Linked DNA regions of Homo sapiens: regions 1, 2, 3, 4, 5 and 7 are each linked to region 6. The links are contacts of gene promoters, found by promoter capture Hi-C in blood cells and fetal thymus (Javierre and others, 2016). All regions are on one chromosome and are shown on one strand. The core of a region is centred on a gene start or on the middle of the fragment in contact, and the rest is flanking DNA. Distances in the headings are between cores, read along the strand shown. Region 1 overlaps VAC14 (VAC14 component of PIKFYVE complex). Region 2 overlaps VAC14 (VAC14 component of PIKFYVE complex). Region 3 overlaps VAC14 (VAC14 component of PIKFYVE complex). Region 4 holds the start of TRG-GCC3-1 (tRNA-Gly (anticodon GCC) 3-1). Region 5 overlaps MTSS2 (MTSS I-BAR domain containing 2). Region 6 holds the start of CALB2 (calbindin 2). Region 7 overlaps HYDIN (HYDIN axonemal central pair apparatus protein).

The links. Contacts are between HindIII fragments. The CHiCAGO score rates a contact against its expected background, and 5 or more counts as called.
Region 1: a contact is called between a fragment that was not itself captured here and the fragment with the promoter of CALB2 in region 6, in 1 of 17 cell types (M0 macrophages). The highest score is 6.0, in M0 macrophages.
Region 2: a fragment that was not itself captured here is called in contact with the fragment with the promoter of CALB2 in region 6 in 3 of 17 cell types (megakaryocytes, erythroblasts and M0 macrophages); the score reaches 10.2 in megakaryocytes.
Region 3: a contact is called between a fragment that was not itself captured here and the fragment with the promoter of CALB2 in region 6, in 2 of 17 cell types (M0 macrophages and M1 macrophages). The highest score is 6.5, in M0 macrophages.
Region 4: a contact is called between a fragment that was not itself captured here and the fragment with the promoter of CALB2 in region 6, in 2 of 17 cell types (megakaryocytes and M1 macrophages). The highest score is 6.4, in megakaryocytes.
Region 5: a fragment that was not itself captured here is called in contact with the fragment with the promoter of CALB2 in region 6 in 3 of 17 cell types (M0 macrophages, megakaryocytes and M1 macrophages); the score reaches 7.0 in M0 macrophages.
Region 7: a fragment that was not itself captured here is called in contact with the fragment with the promoter of CALB2 in region 6 in 5 of 17 cell types (megakaryocytes, endothelial precursors, M0 macrophages and 2 more); the score reaches 10.8 in megakaryocytes.

Annotation. Positions count from the first base shown.
Region 1 is chr16:70,694,245-70,697,137 of GRCh38, forward strand. VAC14 (VAC14 component of PIKFYVE complex) reads right to left here. Exons shown (of 19, transcript NM_018052.5): 17 at 1,300-1,379. Among named protein-coding and RNA genes, the nearest start is that of MTSS2, 9.6 kb to the left of the region's middle. RefSeq lists enhancers at 1-421, 422-1,247, 1,248-2,074. The HindIII fragment of the contact is 545 bases long and covers 1,170-1,714 here.
Region 2 is chr16:70,792,319-70,795,194 of GRCh38, forward strand. The region is part of intron 1 of VAC14 (VAC14 component of PIKFYVE complex); the gene reads right to left. Among named protein-coding and RNA genes, the nearest start is that of TRG-GCC2-5, 4.2 kb to the left of the region's middle. The HindIII fragment of the contact is 6,132 bases long and covers 1-2,876 here.
Region 3 is chr16:70,757,559-70,760,504 of GRCh38, forward strand. All of the region lies in intron 12 of VAC14 (VAC14 component of PIKFYVE complex), which reads right to left. All of the region lies in intron 2 of VAC14-AS1 (VAC14 antisense RNA 1), which reads left to right. Among named protein-coding and RNA genes, the nearest start is that of VAC14-AS1, 3.9 kb to the left of the region's middle. The HindIII fragment of the contact is 2,360 bases long and covers 299-2,658 here.
Region 4 is chr16:70,775,743-70,778,818 of GRCh38, forward strand. All of the region lies in intron 9 of VAC14 (VAC14 component of PIKFYVE complex), which reads right to left. It overlaps TRG-GCC3-1 (tRNA-Gly (anticodon GCC) 3-1), which reads right to left and starts at 2,539; the gene lies at 2,469-2,539. The HindIII fragment of the contact is 2,996 bases long and covers 288-3,076 here.
Region 5 is chr16:70,673,606-70,676,588 of GRCh38, forward strand. It overlaps MTSS2 (MTSS I-BAR domain containing 2), which reads right to left. Exons shown (of 15, transcript NM_138383.3): 11 at 701-923. Among named protein-coding and RNA genes, the nearest start is that of MTSS2, 11 kb to the right of the region's middle. The HindIII fragment of the contact is 2,596 bases long and covers 1-2,585 here.
Region 6 is chr16:71,357,245-71,360,253 of GRCh38, forward strand. CALB2 (calbindin 2) reads left to right here and starts at 1,479. Exons shown (of 11, transcript NM_001740.5): 1 at 1,479-1,642. The coding sequence starts at 1,549. RefSeq lists an enhancer at 1,210-2,175 and a silencer at 1,278-1,507. The HindIII fragment of the contact is 14,542 bases long and covers 1-3,009 here.
Region 7 is chr16:70,808,338-70,811,518 of GRCh38, forward strand. HYDIN (HYDIN axonemal central pair apparatus protein) reads right to left here. Exons shown (of 86, transcript NM_001270974.2): 85 at 1,446-1,670. Among named protein-coding and RNA genes, the nearest start is that of VAC14, 8.8 kb to the left of the region's middle. The HindIII fragment of the contact is 936 bases long and covers 1,044-1,979 here.

The sequences.
Region 1 (2,893 bases), core at 192-2,691, 660 kb before region 6:
AATGCCAAGAATGTACAACTGGAGAGATGAGTCAGGACAGACCAGCAGCAGGAGCAGGGTCTTTTTAGGATCTGACCTCAGGCGGCCGTGTGGGTGCCTGTGTCCCTGGGAGGCCCTCGGGGAAGTGTCACGCTGGGCACACCTGGGACAGGCTTTAGCGCACTCTGCGGAGAGCAGGGTCTCCCCCCTGCTCTTCTGTCTCCAGGGCATCAGTTCCTACGGCACCCTGCTGCTTGATGAGGCTGCCCTTTGAAGGGGGCTCAGGAGGGGATGGGAACGGGTGTTCTTCAGCCCCTGCATTCAATTCAGGCTCCAGGGCTCAGGCTGATGGGCTTAGGCCGGGCGGGTCAGAGACGCTGCCAGAGAGTGGGAGAGGCCGGGTGGCCAGCTTGGCAGGGAAGGTGGCCACCAGCAGAGTGGCCTCCTGGCTTCTCTGCACATTATAAGCACATAAGCGTCATTCAAAGTGTGTATGTTGAGGTGCTGAGAGCTGTGCTCGCCCCAGCCAGCTGCCACTTTTGCACATTCAGCCTGGGTGTTACTAAGCAGGCAGCTCCTGCCCACTGGCTCCCAGCAAATGCCAACTCTTCTTTCAGAGAGGTACAGGCATGGCTCTTGGGCCAACAGGAGCACCTGCAGAGGGACTCGGGACCCACAACTTCAGAGAGCCAGAGCAGAGGCAGCAGACCCGGAGGGGTGGCTGGGGACAGCCCAGGGGCCTGGTATCAGCCTTCAAGGGGGTTCTGCTGTCAGCGCTGGCTCATGTCCAGGAGACTCACTGTGAGGGATACAGGCAGGATCCAGGTTCTGATGCCACGTGCCCCAGCCCTGCTCTGGCTGGCCTTGCAGGCCTATCATCCCAGTCTTTTTTTTTTTTTTTTTTCTGAGGCAGGGTCTTGCTCTGTCACCCAGGCTGGAGTGCAGTGGTACAGTCACAGATCACTGTAGTCTCAACCTCCTGGGCTCAAGTGATCCTCCTACCTCAGCCTTCTGAGTAGTGGTGACTATAGGCATGCACTCTCATGCCTGGCTAATTTTTAAAAAATTTTGTGCAGATGAGATCTCACTATGGTGCCCAGGCTGGTCTCGAACTCCTGCCGTTAAGAGATGCTCCAGCCTCAGCCTCCAAAGTGCTGGGATTATAAGTCTCACATTCTCAACATTCCAGAAGCTTCCCTGGGGTGACTGCTCTTCCTCCCTCCCCAGCCAAAAGAGACCAACTGGAGCTTGACTTCACCCACCCCACTCCAGGGCAGCCTTGGACTCATGGCGCGAGGTGTGGTGGGAGGTGGTTCTTACATGTGAAGATGGGGCACTCAATCAGCTGCACCAGCTTGTCCACCTCTGCGAGGAAGTCCACGGTGACCTCCAGGTCCCCACTGGGTGTGCAGTCAAGGAAAGTCTGTCTGCTGGGCCAGCACAGCCGCAGCTCACAGCACCACACGCCCTCCCCCCCTGCACCTGGCTTCCTGTGCACAGAGCCTGGTTGTGGTGAAGCAGGATTTGGCGCACAAAGGACACCAGGCTCTTCCCTGTTCCTCGCCTTTCTGTCCTAAATGGAACTCCCCTGTTCAGGAGTTCCAGGTTCCACTCTAGCAGCTGTCTCCTCTGCACCCTCCCGGGCTGGGAGAGGCTCTTATCACAGCGCTGCAGCCCGTTGGGGGAGGGCTGGGCAGGAAGGGTTCTCTCCTTTCCTGCCAGCAGGGCTGCAGCAAGCTTGCGGCACTGGGCAGTGGCCTGCCAGTCTCTGGGTGACAGAAGTGGCTGAGAGGAGCAAATCCAGGTTGTAGAAGGGAAGCAGGCACACTGTGGGGAGCCAGGCAGGGCCACACCTAGCCCTCCACTGAGGCACCTCCTGGTCCCTTCTTCCTTACTCCCAACTCCTGGCTGGTCATGTTGCCTTCTAAATAGCACTCCAATCCTGGGTTACATGTCAGGCACCCATGGATGGGGCTAGTTTGCTTACTGGTGTTTTAAAAAAAATCTGGCCAGGCGCGGTGGCTCACACCTGTAATCCCAGCACTTTGGGAGGCCGAGATGGGCAGATCGCTTGAGGTCAGGAGTTTGAGACTAGCCTGGCCAACATGGTGAGACCCTGTCTCTACTAAAAATACAAAAATTAGCCGGGCATGGTGGTGAACGCCTGTAATCCCAGCTACCTGGGAGGCTGAGGCAGGAGAATCACTTAAACCCAGGAGGCGGAGGTTGCAATGGGCCAAGATCGCCCCACTGCACTCCAGCTTGGGTGACAAAGCAAGACTCCACCTCAAAAAACAAAACATCTAACTCTGGATGCCTTTTGATGAGCGCAGTGCTGAGGTGAGAATGGGTGCCTCCTGCTTCTGAGGCCTCTGCCCAGCCTGCTTCTCCCCAGTGTGTCATCCTCAAGCCTGTCGGGCTCTAGCTCTGTGGCCCCCGAAGGCCCACGCCTGGGCTGAAGCCTGCAGGCTCACCCAGCCATCCACCCATATTCCCAGCTCCAGGCCTTCTCCCCCACCCCCACACCAGGCCCAGGAGGAACTACAATGAGCAGAGGGCAGCCACCTTCTCCCAGGGGCAGGAGCTGGGGTTCTCTCCCACCCCAGCAAGATGGTCCAGCATCACCCGCTGGCACCTGCCGGGCTGGGCCTACTCAGTCCCAATCCCAACCCACAGGGTTTCTCCCGGGCCAGCTCCCCCTCCAAGAGCCCCTCTTTGCTGCCAATCTCGCTCTCCCAAATACGTCCCTCCCCTCCCAGTGTCCTGGCAGCCCTGATGTCACAAGCCCTGAGGCTGAGTGGAGGGGTGGGGACAGGAGCATGGCACTTGGGCCCGCCTGTTGGGTGGAAAGGGGGCAGCCGGCCCCTTCCTGCCCCTCAGAGGCTCAACCCCAACCACAGTGAGAGGAAGGATA
Region 2 (2,876 bases), core at 58-2,557, 570 kb before region 6:
GGGGGATCTGAGGCTGAACTAGTTTTGAAGTTAGTATCTGGCCCAGAAACTCTCACGATCACAAATCCCTGGAGACCTTCACTAATGTGAAGGGCATGGACATCGCTGTCTTATACACCAGAGCAGGGATCCACTTCTGCCTGGTTTCCTCCAAAAAGTGCTAAAGAACCCTGGCTGGAGAGGTGTCCTCTAGAGGCTGCTCAGAGCCTGGGTTCTCAGCTGGCCAGTGGCATTGCAGGATGGCAGGAACACCCATTCCCCAGAAGATACAAGCCCCAAGGGGGGCCAACATCATGCTCTTGACGCCACCCTCAATGTCTCAAAGACTGCCACACTGACTACCTGACAGGAGAAGCAGCCATGGACACTGCAAGACACATCTGGACTTTCATGAGCCAAGGGAGAGCCTGGGGCCATCCAGCACAGCCACAGGACCCCTTAGCTTAACTCTGTACCACAGCACAGTGACAGTCGCAAGAGACTGTCACAGGTCACATGAGGACTATTGAGTTGACCACTTCCTAAGCACTCACACTCTGCTGAGTATTCCAGGGGTCAGTTATTCCCGACGATACCTCCTGCTGTAGCTATTATTATTTCACTCCCATCTTCCAGATCTGAAACAGTAAATCAAGCCCCTTTCCTACGGTCACCAAAGGTCTGAACCCTTGACATCTACCAAGTCCATATCCCTTCAACTATGTCACAGTCCCTCCCTCCCATCTCCCTAAGCCACTTCAGCTGCAAACCAATTGCACCCAATTACAGATGGCAATTCCCTTGTGCAGAACTAAGGCCCCCAAGTGAAACGTAGCTTTCTCTATACACTTTCACACAGTGCTCGGTCATCGCCAAGGCACTCCTTCCATACACAGGGAGTACAGAGGAGGTGCCTACTTGAGATGTTTTGAAATGAGGCTCTAGCGCTGGTCTTCTGTGAACGCAGGACACAGTGAGTAACCATCAGCTGAGTACTTACTATTTGCCAGGCAACGTGCTGCATGTTTACATACAGGGTCTAATTGAAACCTTAAAACAAGCCACTGAGTTAAGTACCATTACACCCATTTTACAGTTTGTGGAAACTGAGGCTCAGAGAAGTTAAGAAATATACACAAAGTCATGCAAGTTGTAGATGATGGATCTAAAAATCAAATCTAGGCTTTTCTAACCCCAAGATCTAAAATCTTATCCACTATATTAGACTAGCCCCTCCCCAAATAGCACAGCTACCACCAGCTGGGTGCCCACTGTGTGCCAGGCACATGATTTCATTTAACTCCAATCCCATGTCATTTGGTGATGGCCCTATGTCCCAACCTCTGTCCTAGGTGGCAGAGGTTTTAGCCACTGAACTCAGGTTCCCATGTGTTCAGAGGGAACATCCTCAGCTGTAGGTGGGTTAATCATGACAATGACTTTACAGGGCTTTTAGAGAATTAAATTAGGTAACTGCATTCTGTGCTCTGTACTGCACATGCTCAAATAACAGTATTAGTGCAAAGTCAGAATCAGAGACAAGCTGTGATCTTATACATAGCACACGAGGTTGTGCTCATTCCATAAATGTTGGCTGGGCACCCACCAACCAACCTAGGTTGGACCTAGGAATGAACTGATTAGAAATGAGCAGATATGACGTAGGAATGAGCATGTACTGAGCATACAGTGGATCCAACCAGTGGAAAAAACTACAAAGGAGAAGCAAGAGTCAGTGACAGCAGGAGGCTTGTTTTGATCTCGGGTGACAGTAGTTGTGACTACTGAATAAGTGCTTCCCTCAGACTGTAACAAAACAGCACTAATTTAAATATTGGGACACAATTCACATACCATAAATTCACTCTTTTAGAGTGTAGGTGTCAGCAGCCTTTTGTATATTCACGAAGCTGTGCAACCATCACCACCGTCAATTGTAGAACATTTTTTTACCATCCCCAAAAGAAACCCTGCACCCACTGGCAGTCACTCCCCATTCCCCCGCGCCCTAGGCAAGCCCGAGTCTACTTTCTGTTTCTATAGATTTGCCTATTTTGGCCATTTTATACAAATAGAATCACACAATATGTGGCCTTTTATGGTTGGCTTCTTTCACTTAGCATAATGTTTTCAAGGGGCTTTTTTTTAAAATAAGAAAACTGAGGCACAAAGAGGTTAAATCAGAGATCATAAACTCAAATGCCCACACGGGCCAGGCAGGAGATATGGGGGAAGCCAGGAGGTAAAACAGGCTCTGGTTAATCTGCCAACAGGTGGCAAAGCTCCCGACGATTTGCTTTGCAGGAATGCGGGCCCCCAAAGCCACATCTCCCAAGTCCGTAAGATAATCCAGAAACCTGAATTTCACTGTGAAATTTCTCAATTTAAAATACTTTGTGATCCAGGCCAAACCAAACAGGTCTGCGTGTAGGTCACAGCCCCCAGGGGCCAGCCTGTGACCCCGGAATTAAACAATTTAAACAGGGTCCCACTGCTGATAAACAGCCAAGCTGGGTGGAATTCTGACCTGCACTCCAAAAATTACCTTGAGCCACTGGGTAATAAATACAGTTATGTGCCACATAAGGACATTTTGGTCAACAACAGACTGCATATTCCACAGTGGACCCGTAAGATGATAATGTTATATTTTTACTATACTATTTCTATGTTCAGATATATTGGGGTACACACATACCACTGTGTTACAACTGCCTAACTATTCAGCAGTCACATGCTGTGCAGGTTTGTAGACTAGGGACAATAGGCTCTACCATATAGCCTAGTGTGTGGCAGACTGCACCATCTAGGTTTGTGTGAGTAACTCTATGTTGTTCACACAATGATGAAACTGCCCAACAACACACTTCTCAGAATGCATCCCCTGAGCCGGGCGC
Region 3 (2,946 bases), core at 229-2,728, 600 kb before region 6:
CTCAAAATGGAACTCAAGTCCCTCAAACACCCCTGAGGTCCTCCGGCCTCTAGAGACAGGCAGGAAAACAGAGAGCAGCTTCTGTCCTGGGTTTTGCTGCTGAAGCAGAAGCAGGGAGGACCCGGAGCAGATGCAGAGCCCATTGCCCTGATCTCAATGTGCATCTCCAGGCCCTTTACAGAAATGACCTCCTGCATCGGAGGAGCTACTGCTTATCGTGGGTTTATGTGTGCTGGGTCCCAAGGGGAGCATTTGACATTCATGATCTCATTTCATCCTTATAACAAACCTGGGAGCAAGCTTCCACTATTATTTTCTGTTTACAAATAAGGAACCTAAAGCTCAGAGAGGCTAGGTTACCAACCATCAAGTGGCAGAGCCCAAGGTGGACTCCTAGACTTCCTGAACCCAAAGCCCGTGCTCTTAACCACCAGGCCTCAGTGTCACCTGGGTAGAGAAGGAAGAACCAGAGAGGGAAGTCATTCAGAATCACATCAAAATTACAAAACACTGAGAGTACTCATCATAAGTGAATAAAACCTACAAAAAAAGACTCTAAAGCATTACTGAAGGACATCAAGATGGCTCACAGGACTGAGAAAGAGCCTGGCTCCTGGGTGGGGGAGTTCACCACAGTGAGACGCCAAGTTCCCCCAACATACTTGTAACGACAGACAGGTCATTATAATGGGCCAGGGTCTGGGTGAGGGGGTTACGCTTTCTCTTTAAACACGCCTATGAGGCTGGTGTAGACATCATTATCCCCTTTTCACAGGCCCAGGGAGGGTAAACTCCTTGGCCAGGGTCCCCGGTAAGGAAGGTTTAGAGCTAGGATTCAAGCCAGGGTCATGGCCACCTGTCTGGGATGTTCACGTTCACTCACAGGGGAATAGACATCCTTCCAGGATTTTCTGGAGACTGTGATCACCCTGAGAGTTCCAAAAGCAGGCTGGGAGGCAGCTGTGCCTAGGAGTTGTGGACTACCTGAGGTCCCACCATCGGGACCATGGAGAGGGCCCCCATCCCGTGGATACTCACAGGTGGGGGTATGGCCATCTTACAGGCAGAACTCACTCAGGCAGCATGGCGGCTGCCCAGCTGCCAGGCAGCCAACAACTGGCATCTTCTGGGCAGGGGAAGCAGCAGTCTCACCTCCCAAACAGGGACCCAGCAGGATGCAGTGAGCACGCACCCTGCATTCTGCACTGTGGAAATCAGGGTCACATTTTCACTTAAAAAACAATCAGATCTCTAGCTATGGGAGGATTTCTACTCCAGTGCCAGGAATATTAATTTGACACCTGCAAATTCTTTTTGACAAAAGGAATTTTCAGATAACGTCTGCAAGGAGCAGGTGGTGCTGAGGAAACAGCCACTTATCTTGAATAATGGGAAGGCAGAGACAACTGAGGATGCCAGAGGGTGGAGACTAACGAGGTGTCACTCGGTGGAACTGAGGAACAATGGCAGACGAGACACCCCAGCGAGGCCACGCACCCGTGGGACTGACAGAGATGGTGGTGGCAGCAGAGCTGGGTCTCTGAGGCTCTGCTGCGCCAGCTCTTGCATCACCAACACCTGAGCACACTGTCCCCTGCGAGCAGTGGCTCTCAGCGAGAGGGAGGAGCATGTGGGTTTATCACAACCATCCTGGGAGAGCAAGACATTTGCAACACAGATGACAAAGTGAATGTCCCAAATATACAAAGAGCTGCTACAGATCAATAAGAAAAGTGGACGAAGGATCTGGGGGCTGAAGGGGGAGCTTTTTCAAAGTACACATACCAGCTGGGCATGGTGGCTCATGCCTGTAATCCCAGCACTTCGGGAGGCCAAGGCAGGCAGATCACTTGAGGTCAGGAGTTCAAGACCAGCCTGGCCAACGTGGTGAAAGCCCGTCTCTACTAAAAATGCAAAAAGTTAGTCAGGTGTGGTGGTACATGCCTGTAATCCCAGATACTTGGGAGGCTGAGGCAGGAGGACTGCTTGAACCCCGGAGGTGGAGGTTGCAGTGAGCCGACATCACATCACCGCACTCTAGCCTGGGCGAGAGTGAGATTCCATGTCAAAAAAACAAACAAACAAAAACAAAAAACCCACAAAAACAACAAAAAACACATACACCTCTCCATACTCTCCACGCTCAAGAACTTCTGGAACAAGACCACAAAACCTTCCCCTGGTGAAATCATGAGGAAATGAGGAGGAAGATACAACCACACACAAGCTCGCCTCCTGCTGCTGACATGGGCTGGGAGCATGCTGGGTGAGACTCAGGCCTGGTGAGGAAGCGATTAAGGGCCCAGGCTTTAGTGCCAAACAGATCTGGCTCTGGGTTTGGGCTCTACCACCTCCTAGCTGTGTGCAGGTCATGTGACCTCCTCAGGCCATAGTTTTTAGAAATGCAAAATGGAAGTAAGACGACTCCCCGCAGAGAACCGTCGTGAGGGTTCTACAGACACAAGTGAAGGGTCTAGCGCGATTCCTCCCATGGTAATGACTTCCTACAGTTAAGAATCTTCCACGACAACCTGTGCCGCGGGGCTGCCTAGCTGGAAGTGAGAGCCTTCGCAGCGAGCACTGAGGTTAACTTCCATGAGTGAGGACTTTGGTAGGAGAGGACCTGCCTGTCTGGCTGTGTTCCTGCTTAACCTAACAAGCTTTCATAGTCTTGAATCCCAGGGAGCTCCAATTCGAGATCAGGGCTGTTTGGAAATACTTGAAAAATCCTGAGAGGGCACTTTCTAGATATCCTAGAAAGGAAGTTTCAGGAGAAGATGGGCTTTGTCTTGTTCATGGTTGTTTTCCCATTGCCAAGTACACAGCACACCCTCAGGCTCACCAAAGATTAAGCAGGGGACACTTAGGAATGTGATTCTGGAAAGCAACCGGATGGGGTAAGATCAGGACTCATCACTAATGATGAAGGTCCCCAAATCCCTCCTC
Region 4 (3,076 bases), core at 536-3,035, 580 kb before region 6:
GGAGGGCATCTTTTAGAAATACCCACATTTATAGATGAAATAATGTGGCATCAGAAATTGGCCTCAAATTAATTTAGATTGTCTCCAGATTTTCACTCTTACATCTCTCCTGTGCTTTCATGCAGGGTGGGACTGCTGAGGGGAAGGATTGGGCACTTCTTATTTTAATAGGTATTGTCCTTTAGGTTCTACCAATTTATGTGTATTTCCAAATTGGAAGAGCAGTTACCCCTTCTAAAGCCTTTCTTCACCTGTACAATGGGGGTAATGACAGTACCTATACCCTAAGCTTGCTATGACAATGAATGAGCTAACATTTGTTAGGTGTTTAAAATGACACCCACCATAAGAACTATTGTAGCATTTTTTGTTTGTTTTTTAGAAATGGGGTCTCATTCTCTCCCCCAGGCTGTAGTGGCGTGATCATGGCTCACTGCAGCCTCGAGCTCCTGGGCTCAGGAGATCCTCCTGCCTCAGTCTCCCAAGTAGCTGTGACTAAAGGTGTGTGCCACCTCGCCCAGCTAATTTTTTAAAATTATTATTTTTGTAGAGACAGGGTCTCTCACTTTGTTGCCCAGGCTGGTCTCAAACTCCTGGCTTTAAGCAATCCTCCCGCCTCAGCCTCCCAAAGTATTGGGATTACAGGCATGAGCCACTGCACCTGGCCCATTTGTTACATAAAGGATTAATGGCCCTGTCATGGACTTTCACATTTTTCTTCCATTTCTTTCTTCTGACTTAAAAGAGCTCTTTCTTGTGTTTGGATACTAACTCTTTAATGACAAAATACATTGCAAATATCTTCTCCCAGTCTGGGCCTTGCCTTGTAACTTTTAACCTTTTTTCAGTTACACCAATTTTATTTTGTTTTGAGATGGGGTCTCGCTATATTGCCCAGGCTGGACTTAAATTCCTGGGCTCAAGGGATCCTTGTACCTCAGCAAACTGAGTAGCTGGGATTAAAGATACGCACCACCACACCACCTTCAGTTTTTAATTTAAATATGGTTTGTTTCAATTTTTTTTTTTTTTAATAATTTTTGCTTGTGGGTCTTGTTTAAAAAATTCTACCAGGTTTTTTTTTTTTTGAGATGGAGTCTTGCTCTGTTGCCTATGCTGCAGTGGTGTGATCTCGGCTCACTGCAACCTCTGCCTTCCAGGTTCAAGCAATTCTCCTGCCTCAGCCTCCCAAGTAGCTTGGACTATAGGCATGCACCACCATGACTGGCTAATTTTTTGTATTTTTAGTAGAGATGGGGTTTCACCATGCTGGCCAGGCTGGTCTCGAACTCCTGACCTCGTGATCCGCCCACCTCAGCCTCCCAAAGTGCTGGGATTACAGGTGTGAGCCACCGCGTCTGGCCCCTAATTTTTGTATTTTTAGTAGAGACGGGGTTTCACCATGTTGGCCAGGCTGGTCTCGAACTCTTGACCTCAAATGATCCGCCTGCCTTAGCCTCCCAAAGTGCTGGGATTACAGGCATGAGTCACCATGCCCAGCCATAAACATGTATTAAAACAACACTGAAGCACCCGTTAGTGTTTGTCATGTGCTAAGCGATTTACATGCAAAAATTTTGTCTGAAACACACAACCACACTATAGGTTAGGTATTACTATTGTTACCCTACTTAACAAATAAGAAATCTGAGGCTCAGAAAGGGTAGGCAGCTGTCTGAGGGGAACAGATATAAAGTCAGCAGAGCCAGGACTCATAGGCAGGTTGTTCAGACCCCAGAATCTCTGCTGCCATTCCTGAGACAATCAGGTCACGTCCTGGAGGGGACCAGGCTGGACACGCAAAGTGCCATAAGAGCTCAGAACCAGGGAAACGGCACTGTGCTGTGGATGGCCCCAAGTGGCAGGCCAAGGGGGAGTCGGAGCAAGTGAAGAGGCACAGATGAGGGGCTGCCCTGACTGGAGGTCCTGTGGTTAGAGGAGGAGGGAGAAGATGCGGAGGTGGGGCAGGGGTGCAAATATGCACACACACAAAGGTTCTTGCCCGGAGGTGTGCCATGAGGAACGTGGTGCTGTCGGCGGATCAGCACAAGTAAACAAAGAAGGCCAGGCATGAGGTCCTGTCTCCAGCCAGGTGGACCAGAGTGGGAACAGAGGGAGCAGAGAGGGAAGAGTGAGCAGGAGAGGCTGTGATGAACTTGTCCCTGACCAGCGAAGCTATCTGTCCTGCGGCTGGCAGGGACTGTCTCCTGGGCACCTTGGTAAAAGACTGGTGATTAGTTAGTTACAAGCTAAGCAGGGCTGAGAGTGGATGTAAAGGCGCCAAATTAGCTCTTACCATCTCTGGGAACTAGTACAAAGTGAGCTTTTCATCTGCTGAAATGCTGTTTATGAGGCAGTAAAATCCAGAGCCAAGAGGCATGAATGTATCCTGGTTAGGGTAATACTCTCCTGGGCAAGCAGCTGTGTGAAAAAATGCTTAGGAAAACCATCTAAAAAGGTAGATAGGCTGCACTGGCCGGGAATCAAACCCGGGCCTCCCGCGTGGCAGGCGAGAATTCTACCACTGAACCACCAATGCTCCAGCTGGTAGGGATGTTTTTAGTTGAGGCCACGACCCACAGGATGGAGTGGTTCCTTTCTAGCGGGCTTGACTTCTTGCCACATAAGCAGAAAGGTGGCAGGGGCTGTTGGGTTCTAATTTAGAGGAATAGGCACTGACTTTTTTTTTTTTAAATTGAGATATAATTCATATAACATTTCACATAACAAAAATTTCACCATTTTCAAAGTGTTCAACTAGGTAGTTTTTAGTACATTCACAAAGTTGTGCACCCATCACCTCTATTTAATTCTAGAACATCTCCATAACCCCAAAAAGAAACCGGGCATCTGTAAGCAGTCAGTCCCAATTCTCCTTTTCTTCAAACCCAGGCAACTGTTACTCTATTTTCTGACTATGGATTAAGAGGCACTGTGAACTTCAAACAAACAGAGCAGAAGGTGAAGCTGTGTTAAGTTCTATGATCTTAACTACGTATATATATTAAAAACTGGAAAAAATACATCAAAATTTGAACATTCATTGCCTCTTGGGGATAGTCTTGTTTCTTTGCAT
Region 5 (2,983 bases), core at 38-2,537, 680 kb before region 6:
ATTTGAGATGCAAGAAAAAAATGACAAGAAATGTGTATTAACATATGGGTAAATCTAAATAAGTACTGTATGTATAAAATAAAGAAATTAAGAAGAAAAATGTCATTTGTGGGTACTGTAAAAAAAAAGAGAAAATAATATAGCTTGTAAGTTTGAGAAGGAGTGGGTGACAAGTAAAAAAATATATATTAAGGGCCTTGAATTACTCAGGAGGTGGGGTTGTGTTAAGTATGCATATGGTAAGATTTCAAGGTAACCTATAAAAGAAAAGAGACAGAATATAACTTACAATCCAGCAGACGGGGAATAAGAGAAAAGAAAAAACAAAGTCAAGGGTAGAGACAAGAATTCAGGACAAATAGAAAGAAGAAAGCCAGAAGTCCAAATATGTCAGTAAATACAAAGGGGCTAAAAATGGCAATTAAAAGATAGAGGTTGTCAGATTGGATAAAAAAAGAAAATCTAGGCATTATGCTGCTTACAAGAGACTCATTTAAGATATAAAGATATGTGAATTTAAAAGCAGAGATAGAAAATAATAATATAAATACTGAACAGAATAAAGGCCTTGGGGGCCTTCAGGCCAGTCTCAACAGCTATAGTAGTCTCAACAGCTATAGTAGTCCCGCATGTGGCTTGCCTGATGCTGGCATAAGGCTGCTGCACCCCACCCTGACTGATCCTCCTAACGCCCCCTCACCTGGCTGGTGATGTCTGAAGGCATAGGCGAGGGGGGCTTGGAGTAGGTGGCGTCCTGGGAGACGAAGCCAGAGTCATGGGAGGAAACGCTGGAGAGGCGAGCGGTGGTGGTGGCTGGCTGCGCCAGGCTGCGGTAGCGACAGGTGGAACTGGGTGAGTATGTTTGGGCACCCCCAGGCCATGGGGCTCCGCCACCCTTGGCACTGCTACTGCTGCTGGGGGCACTAGGGGAGTGAAGGAAGAGGGCACAGCAGCCAGACAGGGAGACAGAGGGGTGTGTGTTTGGGGGAGGTTGACAAACGAGGGTGGGGAAAGAGGTGAGGGGCAAAGGAAGGAAAAGACAATGTCAGACTAGGAGGTCCTGAGACCCAGGTGCTACACAGGAGCTGTGTTCTGGGACGGTGTGGAAGGGGAGGGCCAGAGCAGGGTACCCCCAGCCCCAGTGCTGAGGGGAGCCGTGGTCAGGGAATGCCCAGGGTGAGGCAACCTCTCTGCCTCCTATTCTGCCACTAAGAACAGTTGTCCAGGCTGGGCACAGTGGCTCATGTCTGTAATCCCAGAACTTTGGGAGACCAAGGCGGGTGGATCATTTGAGGACAGGAGTTCAAGACCAGCCTGGAGAACATAGCGAAACCCCATCACCACTAAAAATGCAAAAGTTAGCTGGGCATGGTGGCGCATGCCTGTAATCTCAGCTACTTGGCAGGCTGAGGCACGAGAATCACTTGAACCTGGGAGGCGGAGGTTGCAGTGAGCCAAGATTATGCCACTGCACTCCAGCCTAGGAGAGCAAGGCTCTGTCTTGAAAAAAAAAAAAAGAAACAAGAAACAGTTGTCCTGTCTGGGCGTGGTGGCTCACACCTGTCCCAGCACTTTGGGAGTCTGAGGTGGGTGGATTGCTTGAGTCCAGGAATTTGAGACCAGCCTGGGCAATAGGGTGAGACCCTGTCTCTACAAAATATATGAAAATTAGCCAGGCGTGGTGGTGCACACCTGTATTCCCAGCTACTTGGGAAGCTGAGGCAGGAGAATCGCTTGAACCCGGGAGGTCGAGGCCACAGTGAGCCATGATTGTGCCACTGCACTCCAGCCTGGGTGACAGAGCGAGACCCTGTCTCACAATGACAACAAAACCCAAAAAACCCACCAAAAAACCTATTGGTTTCACCAAAGATCTTAATCTAGATTCCTATATCCTAAAGAATATATCTTTATCACTGAGGCCTCAGCCTCCCGAGTAGCTGGGACTACAGGCACACACCACCATGCCCGGCTAATTTTTTTGTATTTTTTAGTAAAGACGGGGTTTCACCGTTTTTACCAGGATGGTCTCAATCTCCTGACCTCGTGATCCGCCTGCCTCGGCCTCCCGAACTGCTGGGATTACAGGCGTGAACGACTGCCCCCGGTGAGTCCAATCATTCCTAAACCACCTTCTCAAAATCTGGTATTTGCCATCCAGTCCTAACTGGATGTCTAGCATATGGTGATGGTGTGTGTGCGTACAGAGGTCACCTTCCAAGTGGGTCCTGCACCCACCATCACCCTCACTCTCTCCAATCCCTCAAGGGTGTCCAGCCCTCTATGGCTCACACCCTCAGCACAGCAATTCAACCCTTGGGTGGTGTTCCTGGCTAAGCGTGACCCTGAAGCCTCCCAGCCTCTGCCCCTGCTCATGGCTGTCCCCTGCAATCAGCCCCTTCACTGTGGGACGGCCACCCACGCAGGGTCTGAAGAGCCTCTCTCTGAGGTAGTAGCTGATTGCTGTGCCTGGCTTCTCCCAAGCTCTGGATGTCCAGCCAGTGATTCTGGGGAGAGGGGTGCCTGGCAAAGGGGGGCCCCCACCAGCACTTCACTCTGTGCTTACTGTCCTCCCCACCCAAGGAAGCTTGAACCATCAATGTCTCCTCCAAACCCAGCCCCAGTGCCCAGCCAAGGAAAGGCCCCTGATCCTGAGCCTGGCTAGTGACTGCGAGATCCTTGGCCTCTCCCCAGCTGTGTGAGGCTCCCGGGGCTAGCCTGGGCCAAGGCTCCAAATGCGGCAGCTGCCTCCATGGGAACCAGCTCTTAGGAGCCAGCCAGGCTGGAGTGTCCTATACCTTATGGCCCCAACACTTGTTTCTAGAAGCCTTCCCATCTCTCCCTGATCTTTGACTCTTACTATGACCCCACACGGTGCTAGGCCTGGCAGAGTCCAGTGGTTAAATGCTGGGACTTCATGTGTCAGTTTCCCCTTCTGTAAAATGGAGATGACACCATTCCTGATACAGCAGTGTTAGGATTC
Region 6 (3,009 bases), core at 229-2,728:
GAGTCATCCTGCCTCCCTAGGGACTTTGGTGAATCTCTCAGCAAGGTGGATGGGTACCTCTAAAGCTAGCTTTTGATGACTTCTCCCCCCAGTCTGTTCCTGCAAGTAACTCTAAACACATTCACCCTAGGCAAAGAACAAGTGGTTTTGGAACCTGCATTCTCTATTGCCCCTTTGAGACTCGCTCTGGGCTTGGCCCTCTCTCCAAGGGACAACCCTCTCTCTGTCTCCTCCTGGGTTCCCCTCTCCCCCAGCGACCTCCTTTTCATTCTCACTTACCTCCTTGCCTTTCACTCTCCTCTTGGAAGGTGGTTCAGCTAACACTCATTAGCACATGTTAAAGATCGCCAATTCATGTCTCAGTCACTCCGTAGCAGGAGAGGGGAGAAAGGAGGGATGATGCTGTCACTCTGTGGGTAATGTGTCTTACCTTACCACACCACAAGGCCAGGACAGACCCCTAAGGGCTCAGACCGCAGGAGAGAATGGGGAGAGGGCCCAGCTCCCTGCTGGGGAGTCCTGTCTGCTGCCCTCAGGATGTGCGCTCAGTAGCTGCGTCTATTTTCTCTGAGACCAGCTCAGAACATCCCCAAGACAGAGTTGGACGTTGTTCTCTGTCCACTGGAGCAGGCACATTCCCACGATGTCCCTAGGTGGGCGTGGTTAAGACCTGGTACGGGTTGATCTAGTTCTGCCACCCCCTGGCCAAATGTCTAAAAGCCCCCCAGAGCATGGCCAGCGTGAGGCAGGTACCAGGGGTGGAGGGAGGCTCCGAGGGGACGGATATACGAAGACCCAAACAGACAGTGGAAGCCCCCCACCCCCACCCCACACCACTTCCATCGGAATCCTCCCGGGGCACTGCTGATTCCAGCTGCTCCCCACTAAAGCCTTGAGAACTCTTGGCTGCTCTGCAAGACTGAGCCCCATGAAGGAGCCACGTGCGGCGTGGAAAGAGTGCTGAGTTCAAATTGTAGCCCTGCCACTAATTTGCTGGGCCAGTCACTTAATCATCTGAAGTCACAAGTACCTCATCAGAAAAGTGGTCCCAGCTCTTCCTGCTGTGGAAGGATCAGAAGAGAGGAGGCACGACAGAGACCTAGTGAACTCCGAAGCCCGAGTGCTAAATATTTGTCAAGTTTGTGTTAGTATTACTATTAGTGTTGTTACTGCTGTTATTATTATTGCTACTGCCAGCAATAATAAGTGGTGGATGTACTCAAGACGGTCGGGAGGGAAGGCAAGGGCAGCCTCTCCCTCATTTTCACCGAAAATCCTCCGGGTGTCCCTGGCCCCGCGCCGAGGGGTCTCAGCGCAGAGGTAAGGGCCCTCTAGGAGTCCGGGCCGAGCCTCTCGCGCCGCCGCCCCCGCCGCGCCGCGCCCCGGTCGGATTCCCTGAGCGCGCGCGCCCCCTTCTGGCGGCCGGGCGCAGGCGCAGGCTCCAGAGCGTATATAAGGGCAGCGTGGCGCACAACCCCAGCGCGAGTGCCAGAGCCCAGCCGGCGCGGAGCGGGAGCGGTGCAGGCTGAGGTCTCCGAGCGGCTCGCCATGGCTGGCCCGCAGCAGCAGCCCCCTTACCTGCACCTGGCCGAGCTGACGGCGTCCCAGTTCCTGGAAATATGGAAGCACTTTGACGCAGACGGTCAGTAAAGCTCCCAACTTCTGTGCCCATTGGCACCCAGGGGACCTGCGGTGAAGGGGGCAGGGGGCGGCGCTGAATGCGGGCAGGTGTACGTTTGCCCTCAGGAGGTGGTCTGGTCGCAGAGCCTGCTGGGGTAGTGGTCCCGGGTTTGGGAGACATCCGGCTGCTCTGGGCACAACTGTCAGTAACTTTCTTCCCTAACATAGATGACCCAGAGCCCACCCGCATTTGCACCTTTATTCTGAGCAAGTGGGAGCTTTCTCAGAGAGGTGGCCTGGGCTGGGAAGGCCTCCAGGTTCCCCCTGCCATCTCCCCCACCTCCCCTGCCTTCAGCTGCTCCAGCCACAGGTCTCAGAAGACCACTCATTTCTTTCCTCCTCTTCCCCTTTTGTTGAATGCTAGGTTAGCCCCCTTACCCTGCTGGAGGCTGGGATAAATTAGGGGATCCTGAAGGGAAACGTGGCCTCCCCAGCTTGATTGGCTGGGAGCAGGAGTGGAAAATGGCATTGGGGGCCCTGAACACCCCCCTGCTTCCTTTGTCCATTTTCCAGCCGCCGTGGGCATGTAGGTTTCCCAATACAGCAGCAGTGGGTGTGGTGGCGGGCAGCGTTGGGGTGCCAGTCCCAGACCTGTTCCCTCATAGTGATAATCCTGGGTACTCTTGGTGACTTCATCTCTGGGTAGGGGGAGGCACCACCCTAAGTGCCTCAGTGACTAACCCTCTGCTCTGTGTGGTCTTGACACTGACTCACCCAAAAAGCAAGGGCCAGACCAAATGACCTTTGGAGGTAGCCCCCAGCACTGGGATTCCAAGTGTCTGTGGTGGTCTGACTCAGGCATAAAGGGTGGTCCTCCTTTAGAGGCTTTTGATATCACTAGAGACTCTGTTTCTGTTACTCCGAAAAAATAAGTGATCTGATTTCCCTCTCTACGCACAGACCTGGCTAAGATGAGCATCCAAAATATCCTGGCATCTCAGACATTTTGTGGTGTCTGTAGCTACCCTCCCCTCGGGTAGCTAATGGCTCCTGGAGGGGCTGACCCCAAAGGGAGGCCAACGGGAAAGGCTAAGACAGATGCTGTCTCCAGAAGACAAGTTCTTAACCACTGCACTGCACAGCCCCCCAGGGGGCCAGGCTCAGCCTTGTGGGCTCTGACACCTGTCATTCAGGCCCCTGTCCCAGATCTGTGTGGGATGACAGGGAGTTTATCCTGGGGTCTGAGAGCAAGGGGGATGGAAAACAGAGGGGCATCAGGTGTGCCTCACTCCATTCTTCCCTCCTCCCTTCCTCGCCTTGGCAGGGTGTGGAGGTGGCTGGGCAGAGATCCTCTGCCCAGAGTGCTATGGGGAGGCAGGGGTTAATGTC
Region 7 (3,181 bases), core at 262-2,761, 550 kb before region 6:
GATCCCCTATATTCGGTTCTTTCCTTCCATGTACATGGAAGACCAAACATTCTGGTTCCTTGCAGATGGGTGGTGCTAGTTCCAGACAACTAGCTGTGAGCAGAAGTGAAAGGTGTCACTTCCATGCTAGAGCCTTTCATTGCCAATTTAACTCCTGTCAGGGTCCTTTCACCACTCTAATACTGTACTGGAAATATTTGAGATGGTGCTTGAATCCCAAGAGACTGAGATGAGCAGGGTCCCCTGCTGGCCTCTCTGGAAAATTGCTCAAATGAGAAACAAGCCTTCATCTTAAGCCCCTGTGATTGCTACTGCACCTAACCTAGCATCTCTTGGCTGATACAACTGATCAAGAGCCTCTGCCTCTTGGCTACAGCCACAAGATCTCTGATTTTACCTGGGCATGTGACTGCCCAGTACAAAAGCTACCTTTCCTAGCTCCTTTGTTGATAGGTGTGGTCCTGTGAAGTTTTGTTCCATGGAATATTAGTAGAGGTGATATATACAACTGTCCCCTCTTCCCTTGTAGCTGGCTGGAATGTGGATGTCCTGATAAACCATCTTGGCCCACGTGGACCAAAACAGCTCCCTTCAGAGGGCAGAGCATCGGGACAGAAGATGTCTGGGTGCCTGGTGTCAGCGAGCTGCCATTCCAGCTCAAACTGCTTATGCCCAGACTGTTATTTGTGAGAGAAACCAACACCTAATTTGCTGTTATTTGTGGTTTCTGTTTTTTAGAATTTTATTTTATGTTTTTAAATAGAGATGAGGTCTCGCTATGTTGCCCAGGCTGGTCTTCAACTCCTGGCTATAGCGATCTTCCCACCTGAGCCTCCCAAAGTGCTAGGATTGCAGATGTGAACCACTGTGTCTAGCTTTGGGTTTCTGTTTTAGTAGTTGAACCTATATTCCAACTGATGTAACAGCTAATGTATATGGAGCACTTACTATAGGCTAGGCTCTAAGAAAATGGCTTTAGATACATATTTAAAATCCTTATAGCAATCCTGCAAGGTTGGGGGTATTATCCCCATTTATAAATAAGCTTAGAGAGCTTAAGCAAATTATTCATACAAAGAGTAAGTGGTGAAGCCAGGACTCAAACCCATGTCTGTTTGATTCCACAGCCGATACCATGACTACTAAGCTATACTGTCTCCCTCTGTGGATCACTGGGCGTGCTGTGTGAAACAAAACTCCCCTACACTCCATCACAGCTTGTTAAGACAGAAAGTCTGTAATGGAAGAACCCAGGCCTGGTGCTGTTTGTTTCTAGCTGGGAGTTTCCAGGCTAGATTCAGGCCTCTGAGGCAGGTGTCACCATGACAACGAAGCACCTGAGTCTCTCTGAGTCTCACATTCATGCTCCCTGTGTCTCCTCTCATTGTTTTTGAACCCAGCGTTCATGTGAGGGAAGGGCAGAAGGTAGAGCAGGGGCCACTCACCCTGCAGTAGTATTCTGTCCTCTGCCGTGTGTAATTGATGAACTTCACAAGGATGATTTGGCTGCTGCCAAGGACAGTCTGGAAGTGAACAGGCTTTTCCGGAAGTGCTGGCGTGGCTTTCAGATAGAGCTCATATTGGTAGTAACCCAAGTCAGTGTTGTGCAAAGTTAGTCTTCCGAAGGTTTCTCCAGCTTTCAGGGGCTGAAATTCAAATGAGAACGTGCCCTGGAAGAGAAAACAGAGGATCCTGTCATGCTGAAAGGCTAATTCATCACCTGCCACCTAGAGACCTGCCCAAGGCTCCATAGCAGGTTGGGGGCAGAAATAGTGCACATGATCATGCTGTTCTTGCTCCTGGGGAACCTGTCCAAACCAGCCCACCCTCTCTCCCCTGTACCTCTCCTAGCTTTCTCTAGTTCAGGTGATTCTATATCTGGGATCTCTATGAATCTAAGTGCAGGTGCTGGACTGTCTCCTGAGAAGCGCACATAGGGAGATGTGGAGATGGGTGAGTGCTGCCAGTAGGAGGGCTGAAGCTTAGGCAGCTCCTTCTTTGCTCATGGCCAATCTCAGAACAGCGTCCTGGGTTCTGCCATCCTCCATTATTACCCATGGCGAAACAAAGCAAGAACAGAAAGCATTTCTTATATAGCAAAACAAGGGAAACAATTCGAATGTATTATTAGTAGAAGATTAGTTAAACAAATTACAGTTTTCTCATTTCAGTGGAATATTGTGTAGCCACTAGAAAGGATGAGGTAGAGCGGGGCCTGGTGCGGTGGCTCATGCCTGTAATCCTAGCACTTTGGGAGGCTGAGGCGGGTGGATCACAAGGTCAGGAGTTCGAAACCAGGCTGACCAACATGGTGAAACCCCATTTCTAAAAAAAACAGAAAAATTAGCTGGGCGCAGTGGTGCGCACCTGTAGTCCCAGCTACTCGGGAGGCTGAGGCAGGAGAATCACTTGAACCCGGGAAGGAGAGGTTGCAGTGAGCCAAGATCGTGTCACTCTAGTCCACAGCCTGGGCAACAGAGTGAGACTCCGTCTCAAAAAAAAAACCAGAGGTGTAGAGCAATACACATCGAAATGAAAGGTGTTGATGTTGATGATATTTTAAGTGGAAGAAAGCAGGTTCCAGAAATGCATATATAGTATGAGCTCTTTTTTGTGAAGAATATGTCTATGGATGTATAGAAAGAGACTGTAAGAATATATACCACACTGTTACCAGTAGTTATGTTAGGGTGGGAAAATGGGATTCTGGAGACTTATTTTCAATTTCATATACTTTTATATAGGTAAAATTTGGTTTTACTATGAGTAAGTATTTAAAAAAATAACTAGTTCTTATTGAAAAATATCAGAGGCTGGGCTCAGTGGCTCACACCTGTGCTTTGGGTGAGTGAGGCAGGAAGATCACTTGAGCCCAGGAGTTTGAGACCAGCCTGGGCAGCATAGCGAGAGCCTGTTTCTACAAACAACAACAACAACAACAACAACAAAATTAGCTGAGTGTAGCAGCACACACCTGTAGTCCTAGCTACTCAGGAGGCTGAGGCAGGAGGAGGCCTTGATTGTAGGAGTTTAAGGCTGCAGGGAGCTATGATCATACCACTGCACTCCAGCCTGGAAGACGCAGTGAGACCCCATCTCTAAAAAAGTTTTTTAAAAAAGAAAAATATCAGAATAAAAAGAGGATATCGCTGAAGTTATAGTTGTTTAACAAAAAAGAATA